Regions from separate parts of the Homo sapiens genome. Here region 1 is linked to region 2. The links are contacts of gene promoters, found by promoter capture Hi-C in blood cells and fetal thymus (Javierre and others, 2016). All regions are on one chromosome and are shown on one strand. The core of a region is centred on a gene start or on the middle of the fragment in contact, and the rest is flanking DNA. Distances in the headings are between cores, read along the strand shown.

The links. The method cuts DNA at HindIII sites, captures the fragments that hold promoters and counts their contacts. A CHiCAGO score of 5 or more calls a contact.
Region 1: a contact is called between a fragment that was not itself captured here and the fragment with the promoter of CPB2 in region 2, in 1 of 17 cell types (endothelial precursors). The highest score is 5.5, in endothelial precursors.

Annotation. Positions count from the first base shown.
Region 1 is chr13:45,820,869-45,828,271 of GRCh38, reverse strand. All of the region lies in intron 1 of SIAH3 (siah E3 ubiquitin protein ligase family member 3), which reads left to right. Among named protein-coding and RNA genes, the nearest start is that of SIAH3, 27 kb to the left of the region's middle. The HindIII fragment of the contact is 3,095 bases long and covers 2,163-5,257 here.
Region 2 is chr13:46,100,504-46,107,759 of GRCh38, reverse strand. It overlaps CPB2 (carboxypeptidase B2), which reads left to right and starts at 2,727. Exons shown (of 11, transcript NM_001872.5): 1 at 2,727-2,824. The coding sequence starts at 2,751. CPB2-AS1 (CPB2 antisense RNA 1) reads right to left here. Exons shown (of 3, transcript NR_046227.1): 3 at 6,413-7,256. The HindIII fragment of the contact is 3,608 bases long and covers 1-2,758 here.

The DNA.
Region 1 (7,403 bases), core at 2,461-4,960, 280 kb after region 2:
AGGTTATGAACCAGTCAGGGTCAAATACTCAAGAGGAGAAGGGCAGGAGAAGAAACCTTCACAGAGCACTCCCATAGGTCAGACAAAGGGGGATGCTTTGCTTATGATATCTCATTTAGTCCTCCCAACAACCCAGTAAAGCAGTTATTATTATTCTCATTTTACAGGTGAGAAAACTGAGGTTCAGAGGAGCTAAGACATGGCTGAAAGTTGCAAAGTCCATTAGCAGAGGTGGGACTGGCTACCTAATTTGTGGGGCCCAGTGAAAATGAAAATGTGGGCCTCGTTGTTAAAATTTAAGAATTTCACAGCAGTGACAGTAGTGCATTAAATTGGGGCACTGTTGGAACTGCACAGATTGGATGTCCATGAAGCCAGCCTTGAGTGGAGATGCTACAAACAATTATGGAAGCAGAGAGAAGGAAAGACAGAGGTTGGCTGGAAAGATAAAATTAAAAACTTTATTGGTAGAGGTGGCAGGGGCCTGGAAGGGAAATGTTGCTTTGGTATCATGTAGTCTGAACACAAGGCTACCCTGGTGACTGCTTTTACTGAATCAATCAGAGCCTGATGTAGCCAGGAATTGAATGAAGTATCTCCTGAAGCCTATGGGACTCATTAGTCTGTCCTGGGAGCAAACCACCTATACTGAGGGAGGAAAGGAATCCAGCTCTAGGGTTCCTTTGCTGCTGTTTGGAACTTTCCCAACCCCTCTGAGAACTCTGTGACCTCCTGGACTGGCTCCAGGCCTGGATTGGACATGTCTGTAGAGTTCCATATTAGTTAGAAATAAAATCAGTTATAAATAGCAGAATGGTCAAATAACAGTGGTTTGAATAAGTAGAGGTTTGTTTTTCTTACAAATCACAGCCTGGGGGTAGATGGTTTCTAGCATAGTTCAGGTGCTCAGAATGTCAGGATTGGCCTGTCTCCTCTTCTCTTGCCCTTTCCTTTGCATTTGCTGCCTCGTGTTTGCAAGACACTGGCTGCAGCTCCAGCATCTTGACTGTATTCAAGACAAATGGAAGGGGAAAAGGGTGACACTGTTTCATTTTATTAGGAAAGCAAAAGCTTTGTCAGGATCCTCTCCTCCAAAAGACAGCTCTTAAGTTTCACGGACCAGAGCTGGGTCAGTCACACAGGCATCAGAACTGTCAAGAAGGGCCAGGGAAACAAAGAATAGTGATTGGCTCAGAGCTAAGAGTGGCCACTTAGCTGACATGAATGAAACTAAAGAGCTGTTAGCCATGAAGAAAAAAGGAATTGGTGGTGGGCAGGCCGTTAAAACTGTGGTTTACTCGAGAGACTAATCTAGCCCGCTGAGTTCATCACAGTTAATGTGTACATCGCCCAGAGACAGTCCTAGGGGATCACCAGGTCAGGGTTGGTCTGGGTGTCAATCTGGAAATGTTTGTCACCCCAGAATGTTGGAGGGGTGCCAGCCTCTGCAACCCACAGCCCTCAGCCCTCACATTATCTTTTTATTTTAGGGAACCCACAACTCACACGTAGAGTTTAGGTCTTTCTGAACCTGCTCTACCTTCCCTCCTGGACTGTAAACTCCTAGAGAGCAGATTTTCATGTTTAACTTGAAGAAATATGTTTAACATGTCCACTATGCTAGGATTGAGCTATTAACATGTGATGAAGGCTGCAACATGAACAGGAGGCACGTGATAAGGTAAAGCATAGAGTGTAATAAATAATAAAGCCCGGAGAGTCAAGGAGCACTTGCAGAGAACGCTATTGATTGATCCATCCATCCATCTATCCACCCACCCATCCATCCATCCATCCATCCATCCATCCATTCATCCATCCATCCATCCATGCATCCATTCATCCATCCATCCATCCATCCATCCATCCATCCATCCATCCATCCATCCATTCATTCATCCATCCATCCATCCATCCACCCACCCACTCATCCATCCATCCATCCATTTAAATGTTTATTTAGCACCTACTATATGCCAAGCATCATCCTAAGCTTTGAAGATGTATTAGTGAATGACATAAACAGGTCTGATCTCACAGGGTTTACAATCCAGCCCAGAGAAGAAGAAAATGATAATAAGTAAATAAATATATCAGGTAATGTTAAATGCTTTGCAGAGAATTAAAACAAGCTTCTATGGACTGAGTCATCCAGGAAAGCTTTCTTTAAAAAAGTGTCACAAGAGCTCACATCTGAATGAAAAGAACATGCACTGAACCAGCCATACAAGGCTCAAGGGAAAACGCCTTCCAGACAGAGGCTAAGGAGAAACCAGGAAACAAAGACACAGGGCTGGGGTGTTGAGGGCCAGGGGGAGGAAGGCAGAGATCTTTGAATGCTGAGAGACTTGGGTTTTGGTCTTCATGGTCAGGGGAGGGAGCCTTTGGAGGAAAGCTGTAACTCAGAGAACAAGGCCTAGGAAGCGAGGGAGCTGGGGTAGGGCTGTCCTACAAAACGGAGAAATGTCACAGGCACAGAGGATGTAGCCAGAACAGGTATGATATGAGGGCCCAGTGTGCACTGATGCTGTTGAATGAACGAACAGATGAGGAAGCTGCTCAGAGCTCAGGAAAGCAGCAACAGAAAGTACTGTCCCAAGTAACTTCTTGCTCACCAAGTTGTTTCCTAAGAGACTCAGCATTTCACATTTTCCCCTATGGTTACCTTCTGCAGAAAAGTGAGCTGGGAAAAGTGGATCCTCAGGAAGACTACTTCACGAAGGTGTGAAAAGGTCAGTTCAGATGTCACTCCCTCCAAGGTGACACTAAGCACACACCCCAGGCAGGGCTGGGGGCTGCGCTCCTGGCTTGGGGGAAATCCGTTTTCTGGGGAAGAGTGTGGTGTGAGGTCTTTTCTCCATCATCCACATTCCCATCTGTTAACGCAGTGCTCCCAGAGTCGAGATAATGATTTAAAAGCTCTAATTTTGTTACATTCTGAATCCTGTCTGCCATCAAGGCTGATTGTAATGAGATTTGGCTAGGAGCTTGGCTCTTAGCTGGGGTCAATTTATCTTTGGGAGAAAGCGCTCCCATCAAAACGCCCAGGAATTATTAGCACTTAGAGGAAAGCTGAAGAGACCTATTAATGCGAGATGCCTAGGGAGTCCTGAAGTGTGAGGTGCAATTATATTTCTTATTTATTTCCCCCAGCTTCATGTTTAAGAGTGAAGAAAAGATGGGTAAGTAAGATCTCGTGGAAATCGATAAATATGTATTAAGCACCCACGATACTGTCATGCTGCCGTACGTTTGCATACCGCTTTAGCACTCACAGCAGTGGACACATTAGCACACGCCTTGGTTCTCTGTCACTTCTCAGCACAGCCCTGCAGAGTAGAGGATGGCTTCTTTTTTTGGTTTTTTGGTTTTTGTTTTTTTTGTTTTTTTTTTTGAGACAGAGTCTCGCTCTGTCGCCCAGGCTGGAGTGCAGTGGCGCAATCTCGTGGTTTTTGTTTTTTAATAAATGAGGAATAAGGCTCAGAGCAAATAAGTCCCCTTCTCTGATAAGTGATAGAGATTTAAACCTGGATTTTTCCAACTCCGATGCGCTGCTTTAACAAATTATACCACAAAACATTGTTTGTGTGCCAGGCTCTATGTGTCTGGAGGTCCAAAGACATTTAGCACTGGTCTCTTTCCCCACAGTGGTTTTCAACTCCACCTGCATGTTGGAATCATCTAGGGAGCTTGAAACCAAGGGGAAGGGCTGAAACCTGGGTCTCAACCCCAGATACTCTGCCTTAATTAGATGAGGTTAGGCCCAGAGCCTTCCAGCTTACAAAGAAGGAAGAAAATGGCCAGTGACAGGTGAGGGGTATGGAGGCTACCCCAGACCACTTTGAATATTCTGTTATTGCTTTTGTTAATAGCAGAGCTTTATCGACAGCAGCAAGGGGGGCAGGTCCTGTGCCTGCTGTGGGCCTGACTACATTCAATCTAACTTACAACCCTTTGAGGCAGCTAACATTACTGACACTCTTAGAGAATTCGATGTGGCGTTGTGGGACAAATAAAGGGTTTGGCACTAAAAGGAATTGACTTCAAAACCAAGTTCTGCCAGTTTTTACTTGTATAATTTTTTAACTGAAGTTCACTTAAACCTAAGTCAGATTTGCCTAGTATGTAAAACGGGTTGTAAAAATTGCCCTAATTATAGAGTGGTGAAGATTAAACAGATGAGAATGGATCTTTGACCTTTGTAAGGCCTAAAATGTAGACTATTTGGTACTATGTTCACTGTTTGGGTGATGGGTTTACTAGAAACCCAAACCTCAACATCACTCAATATACCCATGTAACAAGCCTGCACATGTACCCTTGAATCTAAAATAATATTTTTTTAAAAATACAGTCCCAATGTTACTACAGAGGAGAGAGCTGAGGCTCAGAGCCAGTAAGTAATTTGCCCAAGGTCACACCAGGTCACAGCCCAGATCTTTGACAAACACTGTCAGCACCACTCCCTATACTGTCAGGCCTGTAGGACTAAACCACCAGATTAACACTTGCACAGTGCCTGCTGGCCCTGAAGGCCTTTGCATCTTTTGACCTTGTCTTAAAGGTAGGGTAGGATAGTGCTGAGTGATGAGAAGCAGGACAGGCTTCATGGTGTCTTTGGATAGCAGTTTTGAGACCAAAATCTTTCAAGTGCTTGGAGAATCACAGAATAGATGGAGTTCTCTAGGGCTGAGAGTTTACATTCAGGTAACTGGAGAGTTTTAAAGCTGAAAGGCATATCAACGGTAGATTTCACAAAGGAAAAGAAAATTGGAAAAACTCCAGAAGTAGACTGAGATTTAAGGTTTTTAAAGTAATGCTATAAAAAGACCTGCCTGGGAAAATAGGGCAGACTTGCCTTGCCTATAGTGGTTCTGAGGATCAGCTGAAATAGTGTACACGTGCTTTAAAAATTCGGAAGCAGCAGTTTTCAGCTCTGGCCACGTATTAGAATTGCCTGGGGAGCTTTTACAGAACTCCAGCTGTAGGTGCCCACCCCAGACCGATTAAGTCAGCACTCTAGGGTTGGGCCAGGCAGTGGTCTTCGTTAAACGCTCCCCAGGCAGTTAGATTGTGCCTTTACAGTTAAGAAATCACCACTCTAAAGCGTCATGAGAATACGAGTTGTAATTCTTTTATTATTCAAGTAGACCCAGGACTATTATGGAATAGGATGCCCACCTTCTACTGAGGTTCAAATAAGAGCTAACAGCTTTAATCTGGAGCAGAGGGGACGGGTTAGATCTAAGGAGAAGCTTTCTGTCTGGAGAGGGAGGGATTCAAAGAGCTCCTAAAGTGCTCGCCCCTCTCCAGGGTGCAAGGACCTTGGGACGACTTTGTGGCCTTTGTTCTTCATTTCCTCATTAAGAAAGAAAATAAAAACAGCCTCACAGAGATAACTTTCCAGGCTGGGGAGGAGGCCATGGGGCAGGCCGTGAAGTGCAAGAACACGGCACTTTAAAACCAGCTCCGTTTCAGGACAATGATGAGTTTCTGTCTTCCAGGCCTGCGGCACACCCAGCTCCCAAACAGCAAACATTTGTCATCCAGGCTGAGGATTTCAAGTCCTTTACAAGTAACATTTTTCTGATGATATAAAAAATAAGTTCATTTTCAAAATTAGGAAATCAAAAATATAAGAAAATAAAATCACCTATAATCCTACTGCCCAGAGGCAATCATTATTAATACCATTTTTGCCTGTTCCCTAGTCTAATATATATATATATATATATATATATATATATATATTTGATAATGAAAATGTTAGCTCACTTCTTCACAGCATTGATCACTCAAGTTAGTAAATTTGTAACTGAAGCTTAGATCAGAAAGACTCAAATCCAAATGCAGTTTAATGATCTTAAAAGTCCTTTTGGCTCAGTCTGTTTTCAAATGGTCCAATATACTGTCTTACTATACTTGGAAAAAATAATGAATGATTGCTAAGAAAATATGTTCACCTCTAGGAAAATTATATTGGAGCTGAAGAACAAGTTCCCAGATCACATTCTAGAAAGACAGCAATTTTTCTGTTCTCTGTTCCTGAATCATGGCAGTGGGACACCATATAGGTCCGCATTGAGACCCCAGTGTCTTCAGAAAAGCTCCCTGTTGCACCAGCTGTCTCAGGGATGATGCTGGGGAGCTTGGACTGGGAGCGCCAAGGAGCCAGATTTCTCTGAGACACTCTGGGTCCACGTGTCACTTGCAGCAGGGGACACATGTCACAAGAGCAAAGGGGTATAGTCCTGCCGGGGACCCACAGGTGTGAAGCATTCCCTACAACGGCCACTGATAACCCTCATAAATCACTCCTGGCTGGTACTCAGGCCCCTACCCCTGCTCTGTGGAGGGTGGTGCTGAAAGATAAGAAGCAGAAATCAACTGGGCACATGAAAAAGAACCTCCAGATATTTCACAGTGAACATTTGTTCTTGTTCTCTCTTCCTACCCAACGTGCTGAGCAACAAACTGTCTCTTGACTGCCTTTTGGCCCCACTCTCATTGATTTTCAACCCAAGAATTGAGCGCAGCTATTTCCTAGGGGCCATGTCTAGGTAATGATATAATTAAGAGGGCCACAGAGTCATTTGCATAACACTTGCTCATAATTAGCATCTTTGCTATAGTTAATTAGGACAATGGTTAAAAATCTCTACGGTGATTTTCCACCTTGAAGTCTAATTATTTTTATGACACCAAATTTTTTTGATGGCATACTATGTGTCAGGCACTCTACTGGGCCATGGGGCAGTAGGTTCAGGCCTTTAAGAACCAATGGCTTTGCTGGGGAGACAAGAAATCAAATTCATGTGACAGTGTGATTGGGCTACTAGTACCTGTATTTGAATCCTAGAGCTGCCACAACAAAGTACCATGAATTAGGTGGCTTGAATAACAGGAATTGATTGTCTCACAGTCCAGGTGTTGGCAGGGCTTGTTCCTTCTAGGCTGTGAGGGATAATTTGTCCCAGGCCTTTCTCCTGCCTAATGGCAGCCTCGGGCATTCCATGGCTTGTAGATGGCATTCTCCCTGTGTCCTCACATCATCTTTTCTATGTGTCTATGTCTGTTTCTGCCTCCAAATTCCACTTTTTACAAAGACACCAGTCATATTAGATTAGGGCCCACCTTAATGACCTCACCTTAATTCAATCAACTTTAAAGACCCTATCTTCAAATAAGGTCACGTCTGCAGGTTCACAGGTACTGGGGTTTAGAGCCTGAACATCTTTTTGGGAGACTATTCAACCCATAATGGTACTCATATATATGCAGAAGGGACAGAGGGGAACACAGAGAAGGAAACAACAGACCTTGGTAGGAGACAGTCTGGGGAGGACGGAGGTGGGGAAATTCCTGGAAGAGAGTATGTTACGTGCAGAGGGCCAGAGGGCAGG
Region 2 (7,256 bases), core at 1,478-3,977:
GCAGCTAACAAAATCAATACTCAGAACATGAATTCACCCAAACATAATTAACCTCATAAAGCAGTGCAACACTGACTTTAAAATAAGTATCCTGAGGATTCTCAATGAGAGATCTAAAGGAATCATATCGACTAAAAAATTGAAAAAAATCTTAAATGATATTTTAAAATACTGGTATAAAAACAAAATCAGTAAACACGCAAAAGAACCAGCTGTAAATGATTTATATAGTCATCGAGGTAATTATTTAAAACACCTCAACTGGACTATGTAGTCTAAATTAGACTCAAAGAATAAATTAGTGGATTTGAAGATAGTGCTGAGAAACTCACCCAGAATACAGCATACAGAGACAAAGATGATGAGTTTTTAAAACATGAAAGGACAGTTACAAGACATGAAAGATAGATCAAGAAGCTCCAACAGGAGCCCCTACAGGGCACTAGCAGAGATACGATAGCTGAAGAAATAATAAAATGATTTTCCAAGACTGAAGAAATGTCTAAATCCTCAGATCAAAAGTACATCCTGTGTATTGAGTAAGATAATAAAAACTAAATCCACATCTAGACCAGAGTAATGGATCTGAGAAGCACCAAGGATAAAGATAATCCCTTAAAAGTTATCAAGGAGAAAGGACAGCTAAACTGCAAGGGAACAACAATTACCTGGGCAGCAGATTCCTACCATGCAACAGGAAATGTCAAACAACAATGACGCATCCGTCACACTCGAATATTACATTCAGCTAAACTAGTACTTGAAAGTGAAGGCAAAAGAAAGTTATTGTTAAAGATACAGAGCATAAAAGATTTTATCACCTGTAGACTTTTGCTATAGGAACTTTTAAAAGATTGCTTCAGCAATAAGAAATGTAATTTAAAATTTATTGTTTTTTATGCACTCTGTTTCTTTTGTATCCTGTTTCTGTTTCCCCAGAGAGGAAACAGGACATAAAATAAAGAAGAAACACAGATACAAAATAAGTAGCACAAAAATTGATAGAATTTATTAGCATATTTTAACTATTTTGACTGTTTGTTTTAAAGTTAACTTTTATGTTAAAAAGATAAGGTAAAAGTTACTTGGGTTAGTTTTTCTTTCTCTCCTTCAGTGTGATTATGTTATTCATTTGAAACACAGGTTCGTTTTTGTTTGTATTATTTTTTAAAATTTATTTGTTTGCTTGTTTTAAGTACATATGTGAAAAGAACATGGTTCTAAAATTCAGAGTAGTTCTAAAGTTCAGAACTATTCAAAACACTTCACCCAAAGAAGCGTCCCTCCCTGTCTCTTCTACCCTGTCTTTTCCAGTGTGTTTCCACTCACCTCCCGTGGATAACCAGTCTCATTGATTTCTAATCTATCCTTCTTATGTTTCTTTCTCCACATATGAGCAGACACACACATATTTTCTTATTTCTTCTTCTTTCTTATACAACAAGTGGTTACAGTGGAGGTCACTTTAATTCATTAAATATCATTCAATAGTTTTAAATCTCAAAAGGAAAAGTTTGAAATCTCAATCATTTTCTTCTGGCCAGGCACGATGGCTCACGCCTGTATTCCCAGCACTTTGGAAGGCAGAGGCAGGTGGATCTCCTGAGCTCAGGAGTTTGAGACCATCCAGTGCAACATGGTGCAACCCTGTCTCTACTAAAAATACAAAAAAAATTAACTGGGTGTGGTGGGGCACACCTCTAGTCCCAGCTACTTGGGAGGCTGAGGCAGGAGAATTGCTTGAGCCCCAGAGGTGAAGGTTGCAGTGAGCCAAGATCACGCCTCTGCACTCCAGCTTGGGCTACAGAGTGAGACTCTGTCTCAAAAAAAAAAAAAAAAAAAGAAAAGAAAAAAGAAAAAAAATCATTTTCTTCTCAGAAGTTAATTGTGGGCAGGCTGATTTATTTTGCAAATTTGCCAATTCTGACTTCAAGAACATTCAAGTGCATTAACCAATGGGAATGTAGGGGAAGAGGGCTCCACTCACTTACAGAGGGTAGGATATGGCCTCATACTAGACAAAATGTTATTTGATGCTACTTTCAAGATGATAGGGGATGGGCCTGGATTTAATTGATGGCTATTATGGTGACCTTTAAATAAATGAGATTCAAAGTAACCTGATGTCTTTACTGCTTGAACCAGCTTCCATGAAATAGTATTCCTATTGGGGGTGGGCCTATCATTCCATATGGTCAAGGAAACATCTTTTTGAACAGAGATCCTGTAATCATCCTTACAAACTGCACTTCAACATTGGATTGGATTAGCCAGATTTGAGGAACTCACTTTTTACATCTTCATAAATTTAAAATGTTGAAAAAGTCAGAGGCAAGGGAAGACATTTATAGTACTTCACGGTAGATCTCCCTCAACATGGGCTATATATCCATTAGTCAATATTCTATAGCTATTGTTCTGCAATAAACCAGACAAGATCCTACTGTATTACTACCCTTTTATTCTTGGCCCTACCTTCCCCAAGGAGTTACACATTTTCTAGATAGTCTAAATTAAGAGCAACTCTCATCATACTCTTTTTGAGTGTTTAATTATCAAGCAACAGCCTAACTAAGCCAATAATATTTCTCTTTTTGGGAGTGGAAATGGAAGCTAAGTTGATTGACCCACAGGAACAAGAGGGAACATGCCGTTATATTTTAACCAGTGTGTAAAGAAGGCTGTTATGCAATCAATGATCTGGGTTTTTCTCTTCAGAGAAATTTGTTGTACAGAAAATTGCTGTTGGGATGAAGCTTTGCAGCCTTGCAGTCCTTGTACCCATTGTTCTCTTCTGTGAGCAGCATGTCTTCGCGTTTCAGAGGTAACCCAATAGAATCTTAGACTGTGGTGGGCCACTCTCCTCACTTGTTTGCCTCATGTCGTGTCAAGTCAGTGCACTGAGCTGGTGGACAAAATGGTAAACTTTGAAGGCCAGGTCTTTCAGAACTTTCCAAGTTGCCCTGACAAATAAGTAGACTTTAGCACAATGGGCTATCACTAAAGACAGGGTCTTTTTTCTTTCCTGGCTCTGGTTTTATTATTGGGAGAACCTTGGATGATACGCATATCCAGTGACTATGGAGATTCAAGAAATTAAATCTTTTATAAACGTAACTATTTATACTCTAACTTGATGTATGATTCATATTCTTCCTGTCTTCACATAAAAAAAGTTAACTATGGATCATTTATTTTCCCCTTGTACATGGAACATAGGAGGAAGAAGAGGGTGAAGTGTTAAATAGGAGGTTTGGATCATGCATGATTATTTAGCATGGAATATGAAAGGAAGAAGAGTTGTGTGATAAAGAACTATTATCTGATTCTTATTTTGCTTAGTAGATTCCCTTAGGATAAACTATCTAGAAGAACACAAATGAATTCATGCTATAGCACATGCAATGCATGGAGAAAATAGTTCCAGGGTATATGTAATGTAATTTATTAAGTAGTCAATTTTTAGGCTTTAAAACATTGATATTGTTTCCTTTGGAATTATCTTATTTTTTCCCCTTTGTTTTGGTTCTATGATCGCTTTCTCCTCCAATTATCTTTGAGACAGATCCCTCTCCTCATGTTAGTAAATGACAAAGAAAGAAGAGACATAGGGCAAAGGAATATACCAGTGACAAGGAACATTCTACCACCAAAAAAATGTTCACGGTCATAAATAACCATAGGACAATGGTTTGGAAAATAGATCTTGACTTGTGAGCCTGAAGCTGTGTTTGTACATGATCACTGAACTGATTATAGTTGATTGATCTTCTTTTGTTCAACATGATTGTCGAATGTCGAGCAACAAATTCTATCATAAAATGATATTATTTTTGTTATTTAATTGACGTGGGGGTCAAGATTGCTGCAATGATCAGTGACTTATGTCTTTCTCTGTATTTTATCGGTGAATCATATGGTCAGGATTTCTAAGGTTCTTGCTAGTTCTAATATTCCATAACTTGATAATTGGCTTCAGTTAAGGGAAAGGGGGAGAAGAGAAAAATTGGTATCAACATGTCCAACTTGGCTACTGTACACAGTGGCAGTACCATTGACAGTTAGGGGAAAGGGAGGAAACCTCTGCTTATTTAGTGCCTGTGTTTGTGCCAGGCACTGAACTAGTCACTTAGAAATGTTATCTCTTTAAATGCATAAAATCCTACATGCTAGGAATCTTTACTGACATTTTACAAAGGAGGAAACTGAGCCTCAGGAAGAATAAATAATTGGCCCAAGATCAAACAGTAAATGTAGAGCTTGGATTCAAACCCACTTTAGCCTCATTTCAACTCCATGCACTGGACAGCATTGCCTCCATAAAATCTGGAAATTAGGAAGAGAGCCAGTTTGAAGGAAGGTCAGATTTAGTCAAAGGGAGTTGCAGGCAGCAGTTGGTTTGGAAAGTAGCTTGGAAGAGAGGTTCGGGATTAGAGGTTCAGTCTCATGGTTCTCACCCACTAGCAGATCTAATCATGGCCTTGGCGTCAGCCCAGTGCAATTATCCTCAGCTGGTTGTTGCAGAGGTTGGCGGGCAGGTGGGCTCACTGCAGACCGCCATCTTGATCGTAGAGTAACCCAAACTCTTGGATAGGATAATCAATAGCAAAACACACTAAAAGCTTTAGCACATCTCTTCAAATGAGTACGTGTATAGCAGCTTAGTGACACTAAATATAACGCAAATAGAAGAAGTAGCCAACAATAAAATAGTAAAAAAATGAGTGAGAACATATCTTCATGCATGGGCTTTGTTACTATTTGTTGCTTCAGCTTATACTCTGAAATCTGACTGATACTTATGCTTGAAAAAAGGAATGAGAATGTGACTATATTTTAACCAAAGAATATCACATTAAAAATATTTAATACTTTTGCATACTGCGAGGGTCCCTTTGCAGAGGAGAGGAGGTAGGAGGACCTCAGTATTGTAGACAGATGAATATCTGAATCCTGGTTCCCATCCCTTCACTGGAAATAACATTGCAAACTACTCTTTCTGTGAGTAAAAATAAATTTTTTTACCAAATGTTTCTGTGCTCCACTTTTCCAGGAATGGCCTATTCCTGAAGCTAAAAAGGAAATCTAATTTCATTCAGGGCAACAGACTTTGATAAATTGTTGCTGGGGTTCAGAATATCAACCCTTCTAAAAAAAAAAAAAAAAACTAACAGTCTGGCTTTTTCTTAAAGCTGTTCTTTGTTTTTTTTTTTTTTTTTGTCATAATCATTTTCCTACTAACAGTTTTTATTCATGCAGTCTCTTAGTGGCTGATTTGTAGGTTCATTTTGATAAATTTCATCAGTGAAATGCCCTGGAACAACAACAAGTTTTAAAGGCATAAATATCATATGCCAAAGGGAAAGGCAGCCAAAAAATCATGACTCCATATTCATTTGCTTTTAAAAGCCAAACACTATAAAGGGTAAAAATAAAATACTAGCAAGAATCTTGTAAACAGAATCAGTAATTGTATTGTGCAGTGATTACCTAAATGCAGCCTGCCAGCCCAGACTATTTGGAAAGAGGAAGTAAGAGACACTAGGAAGAAGACTTAGGAATTAGAGAGTGGAGGAGGGTTGAGGATAAAGGGCTTCTGAATTATTAATAGACCACAGGAAGTGTTCCTCTGTTGACTTCACATACTGTTTGGGTACCTGGAGACCAGTTTACTCTCTTTCACTTTGTTCCTACTGATGTATTGTTTTCATCTCAAAGAACAGGCCACCAGTGGCCTTAAAACACTGTAATGTGTGCAACAAAATTGCAGCCTTGGGCTATGTTCCATTGTTCAGAGACATCTTGCCAGCTTTTTAAATTCAAAATAATCTTTCAGAATGGTGAAAGTGTGAACCCTCCCCTGTAAACCATAGCAGGGGATACACCCCAATGAACATAATGACGTTCTCAGAAGGGAAGGAACAGAGGAAGTGTTGCATAGGTATTAAAAGCTCAGGATCTGGATTCGAGCCCCAGATCTGCTACTTATCACCCATGCAGACTTGGGCAATTTGCTCGTCCCCTTTCAGCCTTTACTTTTTTTTGTAAAGTGACCTGTTACTTCACTGTGCTTGTACTTCTCATTCGATTTTTGGTGCAAGGCTGTTCTTTTTTCTCAAGTGGTTATTGTGTAAGTGCTATAATCGTATCATTCAGAGACGCAGTTGAAACACAGCTTTAGTTTTTGTCTCCCATTGCCCCATGACATTTTGCGTAGTGGGGTTATCTATCACTGCTCTCGCATGGAAAGTTAGAAAATTTCAAGGCTTTTTAGCCTGCTTTTAAGTGACAGTCCTTGGGTCCTGCTAAAAATACAAATAGCCTCAATTTAGAAATTAGAATGTCACCTCCAACCAAGGTATTGTTCAAATATCCCCATCTTTGTTGTTAAAAGAAAATCTTTAAAAGAATTATATTTAGCAAAATTTAATTGAACAAAGAACAATTTTCTAATCAAGTAACCCTCAAAAACGAAAGAAGTTCAGAGAGTTCTGCTCAGCAAAGTGGGCAGGCAGCACTTATAAACAGCAAATGGAAATGAGGTCCAGAAGCAGCTTGAGTAGTTACAGGTGAGCAGTTGTCTTACTGGGCATAGGCTGATCAGTTGGCCACATGGGATTGGCTGTAGCTTGGCTGCTGTGATTGGCTGAGACTCACCTCGTTAGTACAAAAAAAAAATACTCCTAAGTTAGGTTGCAGTTTGTTATGTAGCGACTCAAGTTACGAGGCATCCTCAGACCAAATTTAGTTTAATTTAACATTATTTATAGGAAAACAACTGCCTCACCTCTTCCACAAACACACCTTACTCTTTTTCTTGTTAGTCTTTTTCTCGAGTTCTAACTTCTTAGAGTTGTGTGAGACATCTTTATTGGGGAAGCCTCTGGACCAGGACAGATGCTTCTTTGTCTAGGTTTTCACTTGCGACTCCATCCTTCCCCGCTAAGAGTCTTGCTTCTACCTCTGGGCTCTTGTTGTTGAGAACCTTCCATCCCTTTAGGTGGCCCTATTGGATGGCATCTAACATTAAGTGTTTCTTTTCATTTTAACTACTACTATCTAGCCAACTAGAGACCAGCCACATGCAGGTTTAGCTTTATCAGGAGAAGCCAGGCACCAGTCTTTGTGTCTGTAAATTTGAGGAAACATCCAACTCTCTCATTATCTCCTGGAAGTCCCCCTACTAGGCTGAGGTAAGGGGAGTGCACCCCGAAACTTCATCCCTTTGGGAGGGTGGTGACTTACAGAACCATAAA